Linked DNA regions of Homo sapiens: all the other regions are linked to region 1. The links are contacts of gene promoters, found by promoter capture Hi-C in blood cells and fetal thymus (Javierre and others, 2016). All regions are on one chromosome and are shown on one strand. The core of a region is centred on a gene start or on the middle of the fragment in contact, and the rest is flanking DNA. Distances in the headings are between cores, read along the strand shown.

Region 1 (2,964 bases), core at 259-2,758:
AAATCTACTGAGCTGCTCCAGAGCTAACCTCCTTCCTTCCCTGAAGGCAGGTGGGATCTTGCCAATTCAGGGCCCACCCTTAGCCTCCAGCAAGACTGGCCCCACAAGTACCCGACCCCCACCCCAAATCTGGAGCTCTACTGAGGGCTCCTAATCCACACTCCAGCTCCAGCTCTTCCGGCTTGCCAGCCTGCCTCCCTCCCATTCTCTGGCCTTCCCAATTTCTGCTGCCAAAAATCACCCTGTGTCCTTTGTCCTGGGAGATGTTGCCGCTTGGTGGAGGGCCAGGAGGGAGCCCAGGAGAAGGAACTGGTGGTGGGCTGGCGGAGGTGCTGGCTTCACGGCCGGGAGCAGACTGACTGCCAGAGGCTACCTGGAGAGCAGGGGAGGGAGAGGAAGGGTTGGGAGGAGCCTGCAGTCTGTGGTGGGGACTGTCTCCACCTTAGAACAAGTGGGATTGAGCAACAAGGATACCCAGGGATTTGGGTCCACATTAAGCCCAGTCTTCACCCGACTGCTTCCCTGTGACCCAGGGGATCTTTAGTGATGACTTTCAACAGATTTGAGAAGGAAAATGGAGATGCCACTAGATGGAAGGCCTGAGGATGGTGTCTCACTCCTCCAAGCTGTATCCCTTACCTATCTACCCATGAGCTTGCCAGCAACCTCCCCCCGCTCCCACATCTGTCATTTCCTTTAACTGCCCTCGTTTCCCATCTCCATTTTTTCTTTTTTTTTTTGAGACGGCGTCTCGCTCTGTCTCCCAGGCTGGAGTGCAGTGGCGCGATCTCTGCTTGCTGAAACCTTTGCCTCCCAGGTTCAAGGATTCTCCTGCCTCAGCCTCTGAGTAGCTGGGATTACAGGCATGCGCCACCACACCCGGCTAATTTTTGTATTTTTAGTAGAGACGGGGTTTCGCCATGTTGGCCAGGCTGGTCTTGAACTCCTGACAAGTGACCCACCCGACTCAGCCTCCGAAAGTGCTGAGATTACAGGCGTGAGCCCCCGCACCGGCCCCATCTCCATTTTCTTTTCCCATCCATGATCTTTCCTCTTCCATACTGCCGCCAGCCATAGGCCTTGTTCAGCTTACATTTCCTTCCAATCTTCTTATCCCCCTCTTCCCCATTCTGCCCGCCCAAGTAAACCCTCCTCGGCTCTACTGGGAGCCCCCACCCCCAGGATCCAGCCAGCCCGGTGTCTCCCACCCTTCTTTCCCATCCAGAGCCCTCCTTTCTCACCCAGAACCTATTTTCCCTAGAATTGGCACCTGGGCCCACCTCGTTCATCCCTTCTTAAGGTTCCTCACGCGTTCCCTCCTCTCTCTCCTCACTGACGTTTCCTCTGGACTTCTCTCTCTCCAGCATTCCTTCATCCCCCCACCCCCAATTCTTATATTTATGACTCTTTTGTCAACACTAATCACCCCCAAAAGCTTTACTTTTTCCAGAAGCCCCATCTTTCTATATATGTCATCTTTTCAATTTTTCTCTCTCCTTATGACCCCAAACTTCCATCCCATTCTCTCTGATAATAGCCCCCAAACCCGTCTGGCTCCATCTCTGCCACAGATCCCTCACCCCAAGCTTCTCTCACTTCTCACCAGGCACCCACAAAGCCCCCAGGCAGCTCCATCTTTCCAATCCAATCCCATTATCCCAATCTCTACCCCAGGATCCCCCAAACTCCTCCCACTTCACCTCTGCCACAGACCCGCTCGCCCCCAAACTTCAGCCTCCCCTCATCTGCCCTCACCACCCACAGCCCCTCCTACCTAGCCCTCTCCCGCGCCGGGCCCGCGGGCTCCCCACATTCCGCCACGGCTAGCCCTCCCCGCGCCCCGGCCCCCTCGGCCTCGGCCTCGGCCAACTCGCGCTGCGCCTCCCCCTCTCCGGCTCCCCCTCTCTCCCCCCTCGCGGCTTGCCTCGCGCTCCCTCCCTCGCGTCTCCCTCCTGGCCCCTCTCTCCTCCGTTCCTCCGCGCTCCCTCCTTCTCCCTCTTCCTCCCTTCTCCCATCCCCCTCTCCCAGGCTCCCTCCCTTCGCCGTCCGCTTTCCTGTGCGAGTCGCCGGACGCACCGCCCAGCCCGTCCGCAGCCCCGCGCCGGGTCGGGGCCTCGGGCCGGGCCATTTCGGAGGGACCGCGGCTTCGGGGAGGGGCTAGGAGGGGGGAGAGGGAGCCGACTGCCGGGGAAGGGGCGGGGGCCGCGGGCGAGGCGGCCGAGGGGCCCGGGATCGCGCGGGTGCGGGCTGCGCTAGGCGGGCGCGGGCGGCGGCGGGTCGGAACCGCGCCGAGGGCCGGGCGGGCCGCGGGGCCGGGCGGCGCGGCGGGGGCGGGCGGCGCGGCCCGGGGCATTCCGGGCGGCCAGGGGGAGGCGGCGAGCCCGGGGAGGTGGGGAGCAGAGCGGGGATCGGGGTTTGCTCCGGGGGCCGGCGGGCGATTGGGGCCAGGCGGGGAAAAGGGGGGATGGGGGCCGCCCTCCGGGGGGGTCGGGGCCGCCGCCGCCGTCGTCGCGGCGGCGACTGAGGCCGAGAAGAGGAGAGGGGGGCGGGGGAGCTGCCGCCGCCGCCCCCCAGAGGCGCCGGAGCCCGGAATCCCGCTCGGAGCCAGCCAGCCGTCCCGAGCTACCAGCAGGTAAGGTCTGCGGCCGCCTGGGCCCCGGGCCCGCGGGGTTCTGTCCCGCCCGGGCTCCGGCCTGCGGCTCCCCACCCCCACCCCTCCCAGTTCCCCCTCCTGCCGCCGCCGCCTCCATTTGTTATTTTCCCAATCCCGTCCCCCCACTGCGGGCTCTGCCTGGCCTGAGGGCCGGGGGCTCAGGGGGTGGGGCCCGCCGAGGAGAGTCGGGGGCCAGGGTTTCGGGAGGATCGGGAAGGTGGGGAAGGAGGGAGGGTCTCCGGAGGAGGCCTGTGGGGCCAGAGGGTATCCGGGACCCGCAGACTCAAAAGAGGAGGAACATCGAGGCCGGG
Region 2 (2,964 bases), core at 1-2,500, 480 kb before region 1:
TCCTCTTCCAAACCCTTCGCTGACCGCTCGGTCGTCTCAGGCCCTGAGCCCACACCCTCAGCCCACCCACTTACCTTATGTCAGTGGTAAGTTCCAGGCAACTCTCTGTGCCATCACGTGGGGTAGCGGTGATACCCCAACCAGTACTCCCCACTCCTACCCCTAGATAAGGTCAGCCTGTTTCTGCCTTCCCATCCCATCCAGCACCTCTCAGGCCTTCAGATGTGCCCTATGGGGTCCCCTGCTGCTACTCATTCTGTCTCTGTTTTTCCAGAGATGCTGGAGGCCAGGACAGCTGGGCACATGCAGACTCTGGCTGACTTCAGGCAGCTGCCTGCCCGGACTCTCTCTACCCACTGGCCACGTGAGTTTTCTCCTTAATCCCCACCGCTAGAGAGAATGCATACACGAGGGGCCAGGAGGGAAGCCAGACAGAAAGCTCCTAGGATTAGGGATAAGAGGAGGGGAAAAAGCAGAGTCCACTGTTTAGGAGAGGAGTTGGCCAACGGTGGCGGGTGGGATAGAATAAGGTGGGGGAAAGGGGAGAGGCAAGGTGACAGGAGGGCTGGGCTGAGGGAGCCAAGGGCTAGACCCTCCCCTAACCCCTGTGTGTCCCCTCCTATTACAGCCCAAAGATCCCTGTGCAGCTCCGATTTTATTCGCATCCTTGTGATCTTCTCTGGAATGTTCCTTGTTTTCACCCTGGCCGGGGCCCTGTTCCTCCATCAACGAAGGAAATATAGATCAAGTAAGAGACAGAACACAGGCCTCCGGTCCTGCCCCTGCACCACACCCCACTGGCTCAACCCCACTGCCCACGCCTGGAATCTCACTGAAACCCACCAGCTCCACTTCACCAGCCTTGGTCCTACCCCTTCTCTCCCCTTAGCTGGCGTGCTCCTGACACCCCTCCCCCAAGCGCACCCGCCTCTACCCATCTCCTTCTCCCGTCTCCCCCTGCCCCCACTGCTGGCCAAGACTCATCGGATCTCCTTCTGCAGACAAAGGAGAAAGTCCTGTGGAGCCTGCAGAGCCTTGTCATTACAGCTGCCCCAGGGAGGAGGAGGGCAGCACCATCCCCATCCAGGAGGATTACCGAAAACCGGAGCCTGCCTGCTCCCCCTGAGCCAGCACCTGCGGGAGCTGCACTACAGCCCTGGCCTCCACCCCCACCCCGCCGACCATCCAAGGGAGAGTGAGACCTGGCAGCCACAACTGCAGTCCCATCCTCTTGTCAGGGCCCTTTCCTGTGTACACGTGACAGAGTGCCTTTTCGAGACTGGCAGGGACGAGGACAAATATGGATGAGGTGGAGAGTGGGAAGCAGGAGCCCAGCCAGCTGCGCCTGCGCTGCAGGAGGGCGGGGGCTCTGGTTGTAAAACACACTTCCTGCTGCGAAAGACCCACATGCTACAAGACGGGCAAAATAAAGTGACAGATGACCACCCTGCAGCTCTCCAGCTTCCTCTCTGAAATCCCAGTCCCAAAATCCAGTTTCCTGGCCGCCTCCTGGCTCAGGTCAGGATCTGGCAGAGGAGGTTTCTCAGCCGGTTATGTTGGGGCCTGCTTAAGGGCGGGGGTGAGAAAGGTCCCCAGGCTACTGTGGATCCTGTGTCTGACTTCAGATCCCCTTTTCCCACAGTTATAGCTCCACTTTTTTGGGACAGGTGGGGAGCAAAAGGGTGCAGAGGTCAGGTCTTGAAATCACCAGGGGATTTCCGGGTGAGGTGGGTGGTGAGAAAGGAAACAGCAAGCAGGGCTCTGGCAGCTGCTGCAGACGGCTTCACACAGGGACGCGGGCTGCCATCTTGCTCTAAGTGAAAGTGAAAGAAAAGTCGGCAGCAGAGGGAACAGGGAAGAAACCTAAAGGCTGCAGGCTGCCAGGTGTGCTTGGAGAGCCCCCTTCTTCCGCCGGGCCTCGCAAGCAGCGTAGGACTGTGGAGAAGGGCGGTGGGCAAGGAGGGAACTCGAGAGCAGCCTCCATGGGCACACAGGAGGGCTGGTGCCTGCTGCTCTGCCTGGCTCTATCTGGAGCAGCAGAAACCAGTGAGTCTGGGAGTCGGGGAGAGCTGGCTGGGAGAAGAGCTACTGAAGCCCCAGGGTGCCACCCTCCCCGAGATTCCAGAAGAGCAAAGGGGCCGGGGATGACCCCATCGCCTTCTAAGCCCAACAGGGGAAAGGCTCAGCGGCTGGCAAAGGAAGGAACCAATAGTGTGTGTGGAGGGAGGGTGGGGACTCCACAGGGAAAATGCTAAAGAGGGGCTGCCTCTGTGGCTGTGGTCAGGAGCCACTGTCCTACAGAGAGGGCACTGGCCTGGGAGCTGACACTTCAGAAGAGGAAAGGACTCCCCAGGTGAGGAAATCACTTGGAAGGTGACCTTGAAGGCGGGGGAGGGGAAGGCTACCCGAAATGGGAGAAAGCAGTGCAGGCTGTCAGTGCCCCAGCAACAGTAACTGTCCAGTCTCCTCTCTCTGCGGTGGCACTTGCTTGTTTTCTGAGAATTCCTTTGACTGAAAAGATAGTCTTTTATTCAACAGTTGGAAATGCAAGCATAAACTCCTCTGAGCAAGGCAAATCCAGGACTTTAACTCTCACCAAGAAGTATTTGCCTGGACTAGCAGGTGCTCTCCAGAAAGCTGGTTTGGGGATGACGGGAGAATAGAGGGACACAGAAACAGCTAGGATCTTGGATGGCAACTTTTACCCTTTGATGACTCCACAGCTTGAGGGCGGGGGCAGGAAGCAAGTGTGGAGTAGCTTTCTGGGGAAGGCGGTGCTCACCCCAGCCTTTGTCTGCAGAGCCCCACCCAGCAGAGGGGCAGTGGCGGGCAGTGGACGTGGTCCTAGACTGCTTCCTGGCGAAGGACGGTGCGCACCGTGGAGCTCTCGCCAGCAGTGAGGACAGGGCAAGGGCCTCCCTTGTGCTGAAGCAGGTGCCAGTGCTGGACGATGGCTCCCTGGAG
Region 3 (2,964 bases), core at 186-2,685, 460 kb before region 1:
ACTTAAGGCAGAAAATTCAATGAGTAGGTAGCAGCCAGTGTTGGAAGCAGTCCAGGATGGTAGCACCAATGACAAGATTAAGGTCAGAGACCTCGTGATGCCCCGCTAGCCACCACGATTTTTCTGTTGCCTTCTGTTCATCCCACGTAGATACTATCTGGAAGCCCCCTCCCCAAAATGAAAACAACTGGAATTCTACGGCTTGCCCAAAATGCATAGAACACTCATATCTGGTTAAAACCATAGAAATCAAAAAGAAAAAGTGAAATGGCTATGAAGTATTTGCAAGGCCAATTTCACTTACTACTTGTTGGGAGTTGGAAACACTCAACAGTAAAATATCTAGGGATAATTACAACCCTTATGTAACACAAGTAAATCTTTCCCTTTTTTGTCACTTAGAGAAGCAACATAAATACATCTAGGACCAGGCCAGGGTAGTAATCAGAAAGAAAAATCTGTATTAGACATATTGAGGTCTTGACAGAGAAGTACTTCGTTTGTTTAGCCGTAGTTTTCCCTCAAGATCATGCGAAGGGGGTGATGTTGAAGACTGCTGGAGACTAAACTGTGTGTGTTGGAGGAAAGGGGGAAAGCTCAGCTCTCCCTATTTCTCCTCCAACTATTTGGTAAGACTCGGTGATAGAAAAACATCTCCTATACGAATGGCCTTGGTATGAACAGCCGCTTGGGATGACAGGCCACTATCCCACTACCCCTTGAGTCTTTCTGAGCTGCTCACCTGGTGCCAGAGAACTGGCAGATAAGTTTCTGCAGCTTTGCTCACTGCCATGAGGGGGGCTAGACATCACACTTTGGGTGAGGGGTAAACAAATCCAGAGATTGTAGGGCAACATAAGTTACCAACTGGCAGTTGCACCCATGACTGTCTTTCCTGAGGCGCTGAGTAGTGATTTAGCCAGATGACAGAAATACCTTTCGAGTCCCCTGCCCAGTTGTCTCCATCCACCACCCCCAGCCCCCGCCCTCTCCGAGTCTCCACTATACCAAAACCAGAATGAGGCGCCACTCAGACGAGAGGAGAGGGTGCAATGATTGTGGGACCCCTGCGCCCCTGCCCCGCCCGTGGGGTGCTAGCTGTGGCTGGTGCGAGAATGGGGTGCTGGCCCCCCTCCCTGGGGGTGGCCCGGTCCGGAAGCGGCGCGCGGTGGTAGTTCCCCGCGTTGCTGCAGCTGCTGCATTGCGCCATTTTCCGTCCCGCAGAATCGGGAGCTTGGGGCGAGAGTTGTCAAGGAGGTGCCGAGCCCCCACACCAGAGTCAACTCACATTTTTCTGACAGAGAGAGTGAGGGTCTGTTCCTCTCCGGAGGCTGCGGCGAGACACCCGGTGAGGGACGCTGCGGCTGAAGTGGACGGAACTGCCAAGCTCCGCCTCGCGCCGACTACCCCGCGGTCTAGCTGCGCTGGAACTTACTGCAGCTGCCGCGCCGGCCTCCGCCTTTATTAGTGCTGACCACGCCTCCCGGATAACGGTGACAACCCCGCGGCCCAATCCATGCCCAGGACGGTCGCCCAGCGCTACAGGCCTAGCCCGCCCCGCCCCTGCCAATTGCCAGTCACAACTCTCCTCTCATCCGACTCCGGAAAGGAGCGGTTGCTGTGAGGATCCTTCAGTGATCAATGCGACCATAGTTTGCGCTCCAGTCTGGCGGAGGGACGGGGCGGGGTGGAGATGAGGTCTGTCCCTTCGGAGGGCGCTTCAGCAGTTTGTTAGGCATTTGTGGTGCCTCCCAACCAATCGCTAGGCAGTTACTGAAGACCGTGCCCGCCCCTGCCCCACCCCGCGCCGGGACTCGCGCATTCAGCTGGAGGCGGCGGCTTCCTGGTGCGCGCCCAGCCCTGGTGCCCTGCTCTGGCCCTCGCTCCGCACCACCGCCCCGCCTCTAACTAACGCTCTGAGAGGGTGCAGGAGCCTCGAGACACAGCCACAAGCTCCTGGTGCCAGATACCGGATGCGGGGTTCCGTCCCACCAAAGCAAGCACGAAGCTTTCGTTCATTCGTTTCTTTCAACATAGCCTTCCTAAATTGAACTCCCTCCCAAACCTGCTCCAGTCGAGGTTACCACATCGACTCAGTTGCCCAGACCAGAAACGTGGAAACCATCCTAGATTTCCTCCCCTTCACCTTTACCTCTCCCCCAGTAATCTGCCAAATCGAGTTGATTTTTCCTTCTTGGCATTCCAGTGATTATCTCCCCTCTGCTCACTATTATCCCTTTCCTGGACTCCATCAGTTGGAAAATTCACCATTATTTTATGTCCCGCTAAGAAAAAAGGTTACAAGGCCGGGCGCAGTGGCTCACACCTGTAATCCCAGCACTTTGGGAGGCCGAGTCAGGCAGATTACCTGAGATCAGGAGTTCGAGACCAGCCTGGCCAACATGGCGAAACCTCTGTCTCTACTAAAAATACAAAACAGCCAGGCATGGTGGCGGGCGCCTGTAATCCCAGCTACTCGTGAGGCTGAGATAAGAGAATCGCTTGAAGCCGGGAGCCGACGGTTGCAGTGAGCCGAGATCACGCCACTGCACTCCAGCCTGGGCAACAGAGCAAGACCCTGTTTCAAAAAAAAAAAGAAAAAAGGTTGCAAATTATCTGTGACAAATGCTTTCCTTACCACTTAGCATTTTTGTTTTACATGTATTGAAAATATGGGTTTATATACATACCGATTTCTATATTTCACTCTTGTGCATGCATAAAAAGGGAAATAGAAAACAATAACATGGTAACTATCCCTAAAACTTCACAGAGACTGATTGTTAATGATTCACTTTTTTGACTCAGTCTTGGATGTCCACTAATTTCCACGCAATGTAGTCCTCTGTGCATTTCATAAGGGCTTTGGTGATGCAGCATTTCCTAAGAGTGTTCCTCTCCAGGCTCTAGAGTTTTCTTCCAAGCCTCAGACACCCATTTGGCAAGCTTTGATGCTCATGAGCA
Region 4 (2,964 bases), core at 205-2,704, 430 kb before region 1:
CTCACACTTTTTTGTTTTTCCTATAGTTCCTACTCAGAGAATATGCCTAATAAATATTTTATGAGAGTAGTACAGAAGTATGACTCCATTTTTCTCTTATATTTCATTTCAGTGTGGAAGGCTCTTTAGAAACACTATTAACATAACAGCATTATGTCAAAAAGCGCCAATAACATTCTCACCAACTTTTCTTTTTAAAGGAATTAGGTATAGCTAGACTGTAAAAGGCAAGTGGTGTGAAGCCCAAACCTAAGATCCTAAGATCTAGGATGAGTCAAGACTTCATAGTCTACATGAGTAGAGGCAGCATCTAGAGGAAAACAAAAGTATGTGGCTATCAAATTCCAAAGAAGCCCCATTTTATTACAGAGAAAATACAAAGCCGTTTCCTCACAGGGAAAAGTACAGTTTCCCTTCTCCAGGGTGACAGATGAGCCTTTTCCGAAGTTCTCAGCTTTCTCTTCTATCGAAACTTCCCATGTCGGTTAAAGTGTTTGTAGAGATAGCGGATGCGTTTATTAAGGTTGTGCAGGTCATCAGCGAACATTCTACTTCCAACCATTTTCCTCTTTCGGATACAACGTTGCAATTCATTCCCTTTCCAACCTCGAAGCCATATGGGCCCCCTGATCAGTTCTTTGGGGTGCTTTTCAAAGTTTCCTGTGTAATGTGAGAGAACACATTAGATCCAAGACAAGAGAACTCATCCTACACCAGCTAAGCTTTCAACCCACGGTTGCATCTTGCTGAGCAGCACCTATAGACAAGGAACATTACAGTACAGAACAATAGCACAGACTCTGGAGCCAGACTGCTTGGGGTTAAAATTCTGATGCTGCCATTTATTAACTTTGGAAAAACTGTTTATTTTTACTTATGAAGTAAAAATTATACGAGGGGACTCAGAACAGTGCCAAACACAATGTAAACAGCTACATAAGTGTTTGCTCTTACTATTGAGCACAGTACCACTCTCTACACAGGAGGAAAAGATAGTCGTTACAGCCTAATTGCCATTCTGAAATTGTGTACCACGTCGAAGGTCAAGTCTTACCCAGGATCCCGATGTTGTCATACACTCCGAACATGGCCCTTTTCTCGTTCCAACGATCAACCACTTTGGGGGGCGGGAGAGTGAGCCTTATACCGATCAATCTAGGCACACCTGGGGATGGGGAAGGGAGGGAATTAATCTGAGCCGCCTATTATACTACGAAGCAGTTATCGGGGTGCCTACATCAGCCACTTACCAAGAGAGAAGCTTCTGCACGCCAGAGGCACCCAGTCCCACAGGCGCCTACCTGCCCCGGATAAGAGGTTCCCTGCCATTTCTCTAGTCTCCCCCCTTCAACAGCACACCAAATAAGCCCAAGAAGATGACAGGAACCGTCCCCGCCAACTTCACACGAGTACTAAGGCGAAGACAGCCATCTTGGGCCTTACCCAGGCAGCTGTGGGCGCACCGCCCACCTACGCCCCATCCGCAACAGCCACGAGCCCCGCCCCCCGGGTTCCGGCAGGAGGGGCCTCTACCACCCTTCCCGCCTCAGTGCTTCCGGTCCGCCTGCCGGAAGTTTTGGAGCGCCGGACAAGCTGAGGTCCGCGACTCGTCGCTAAGATTCCCCAAAACTGAGATTTCAAGAAAATTCACCCTTTCCGCTTTCTTTGGCGTCCTTCAACCGTGAAGGAAATGAAGGTTGAGAACCTGGAACCCGCTTCCAATGACCAAGCCCTTTCTCTGTGCCTCACAACAGTCTTCCGCTGTAGCTGTTTTTATTACCCCTATTTTACTACTGGGGAGGAGATTTGAGGTCCTGAAAGTGAAGTGACTTGCTGGACGTCACTTAGCAGAGGAGATGGCGAAACCTGGATTAGAGGCGATGCCTTCTAACTCCCAGCGTGGACTTGCCTCCTTTCCTGGGGGTGACTGAATGCCCAGCCAGGGACGCGACGTCTCTGGCCAGCAGAAATACGGCCTCCTCCCCGCCGACTGGGCAAAGGGGGACCTTGCGGCCAAGGAGGGATTCGCAGGCGGGCCGGGGGTGGGAGCGGGGGCCGGAGCCGGAGCCTTGGCCCGCCCCCGGGCGGCGCTGTGATTGGCCGGCCGCTCCGGCGGGCGTCGCGATTGGCCGTCCTGCAGCCGTTGAGATTTGAACTCGGTATTTGTGGCTTTGCCCGCGCGTTGCCAGACTCAGAGGCGGCCCTTTGCCTCTGCCTGCCGGGGATTGGCCGGATTCTCCGCCGACTTGAAAACTGCCTTGCTAATTGGTGCGTGTTGTGCACGCGTGTTTTTTCCTTTTCATTTCAGCCTGACTGCCGGAATCAGAGCCGCGGGTGAGATCCCCAGGTAAGATGTGGTGTTGCAGGTCGTAAAAGAGTAGGAAAGTCGAGTACATGGCAGTGTGACCCAGTCTTGGGCAAAATACAATAGGCCTAGTAAGTATATCCCTGGGGCGCGATGTGTGAGAAACTGTAAGTCTGACAGATCCGCAACGGAAGTTGTTAAGCAAATCGCTTAACAGATCCGCAACGGAAGATGTTAAGCAAATCGCTTAACAGATCCGCAACGGAAGATGTTAAGCAAATCGCTTAACTTTCTTACTTCAATTTCCGCTCTGTAAACTCATTTGTATTATTATGCACCTCATGGGATTGAGGTTAGGATACTTAGATCAGATATGATACATGCAAACAGCCTAACAGACTTGGCACAGGATAAATAAATCATCATTGTTAATGCTCTTACCATTCTGGTGCAGGAAGCCCACTAGCCCATGCTGGGGCACTGTTTTGGCCTCAGACGAGATCAGACCATTCTCTCTATACTTAAGGAGCTTTGCACATAAAAATGGAAATAATAGTACTTTGCACATTAATATGCCACTTTATAGTTCTTTAAACACCTTCGTACTGCTTGATTTGTTTGATCATCAGAGCAACTTTGTGAAGTAATCAGAGTTTAGT

The links. Contacts are between HindIII fragments. The CHiCAGO score rates a contact against its expected background, and 5 or more counts as called.
Region 2: a contact is called between the fragment with the promoter of CD27-AS1 here and a fragment that was not itself captured in region 1, in 2 of 17 cell types (non-activated CD4 T cells and total CD8 T cells). The highest score is 7.0, in non-activated CD4 T cells.
Region 3: the fragment with the promoter of VAMP1 here is called in contact with a fragment that was not itself captured in region 1 in 1 of 17 cell types (non-activated CD4 T cells); the score reaches 6.0 in non-activated CD4 T cells.
Region 4: the fragment with the promoter of MRPL51 here is called in contact with a fragment that was not itself captured in region 1 in 1 of 17 cell types (non-activated CD4 T cells); the score reaches 5.3 in non-activated CD4 T cells.

What each region holds. Positions count from the first base shown.
Region 1 is chr12:6,925,753-6,928,716 of GRCh38, forward strand. ATN1 (atrophin 1) reads left to right here and starts at 2,207. Exons shown (of 10, transcript NM_001940.4): 1 at 2,207-2,632. LOC124902868 (a long non-coding RNA gene) reads right to left here and starts at 1,944. Exons shown (of 2, transcript XR_007063194.1): 1 at 1,775-1,944; 2 at 1-373. RefSeq lists an enhancer at 92-791 and silencers at 1,816-1,865, 2,046-2,205. The HindIII fragment of the contact is 151 bases long and covers 1,434-1,584 here.
Region 2 is chr12:6,450,267-6,453,230 of GRCh38, forward strand. CD27-AS1 (CD27 antisense RNA 1) reads right to left here and starts at 1,251. Exons shown (of 6, transcript NR_015382.2): 1 at 75-1,251. It overlaps CD27 (CD27 molecule), which reads left to right. Exons shown (of 6, transcript NM_001242.5): 3 at 1-86; 4 at 275-364; 5 at 629-748; 6 at 1,002-1,447. The coding sequence ends at 1,126. It overlaps TAPBPL (TAP binding protein like), which reads left to right and starts at 1,776. Exons shown (of 7, transcript NM_018009.5): 1 at 1,776-2,046; 2 at 2,801-2,964. The coding sequence starts at 1,983. RefSeq lists enhancers at 586-795, 886-1,045, 1,476-2,075. The HindIII fragment of the contact is 9,942 bases long and covers 1-2,964 here.
Region 3 is chr12:6,469,242-6,472,205 of GRCh38, forward strand. VAMP1 (vesicle associated membrane protein 1) reads right to left here and starts at 1,436. Exons shown (of 5, transcript NM_014231.5): 1 at 1,289-1,436. The coding sequence starts at 1,290. It also overlaps a transcript of TAPBPL not described here. RefSeq lists silencers at 918-967, 1,468-1,517, 1,728-1,987. The HindIII fragment of the contact is 5,218 bases long and covers 1-2,006 here.
Region 4 is chr12:6,491,808-6,494,771 of GRCh38, forward strand. It overlaps MRPL51 (mitochondrial ribosomal protein L51), which reads right to left and starts at 1,455. Exons shown (of 3, transcript NM_016497.4): 1 at 1,251-1,455; 2 at 1,055-1,165; 3 at 79-660. The coding sequence starts at 1,329. The coding sequence ends at 464. It overlaps NCAPD2 (non-SMC condensin I complex subunit D2), which reads left to right and starts at 2,295. Exons shown (of 32, transcript NM_014865.4): 1 at 2,295-2,347. RefSeq lists enhancers at 1,673-1,722, 1,890-2,487 and a silencer at 1,923-2,252. The HindIII fragment of the contact is 4,003 bases long and covers 1,260-2,964 here.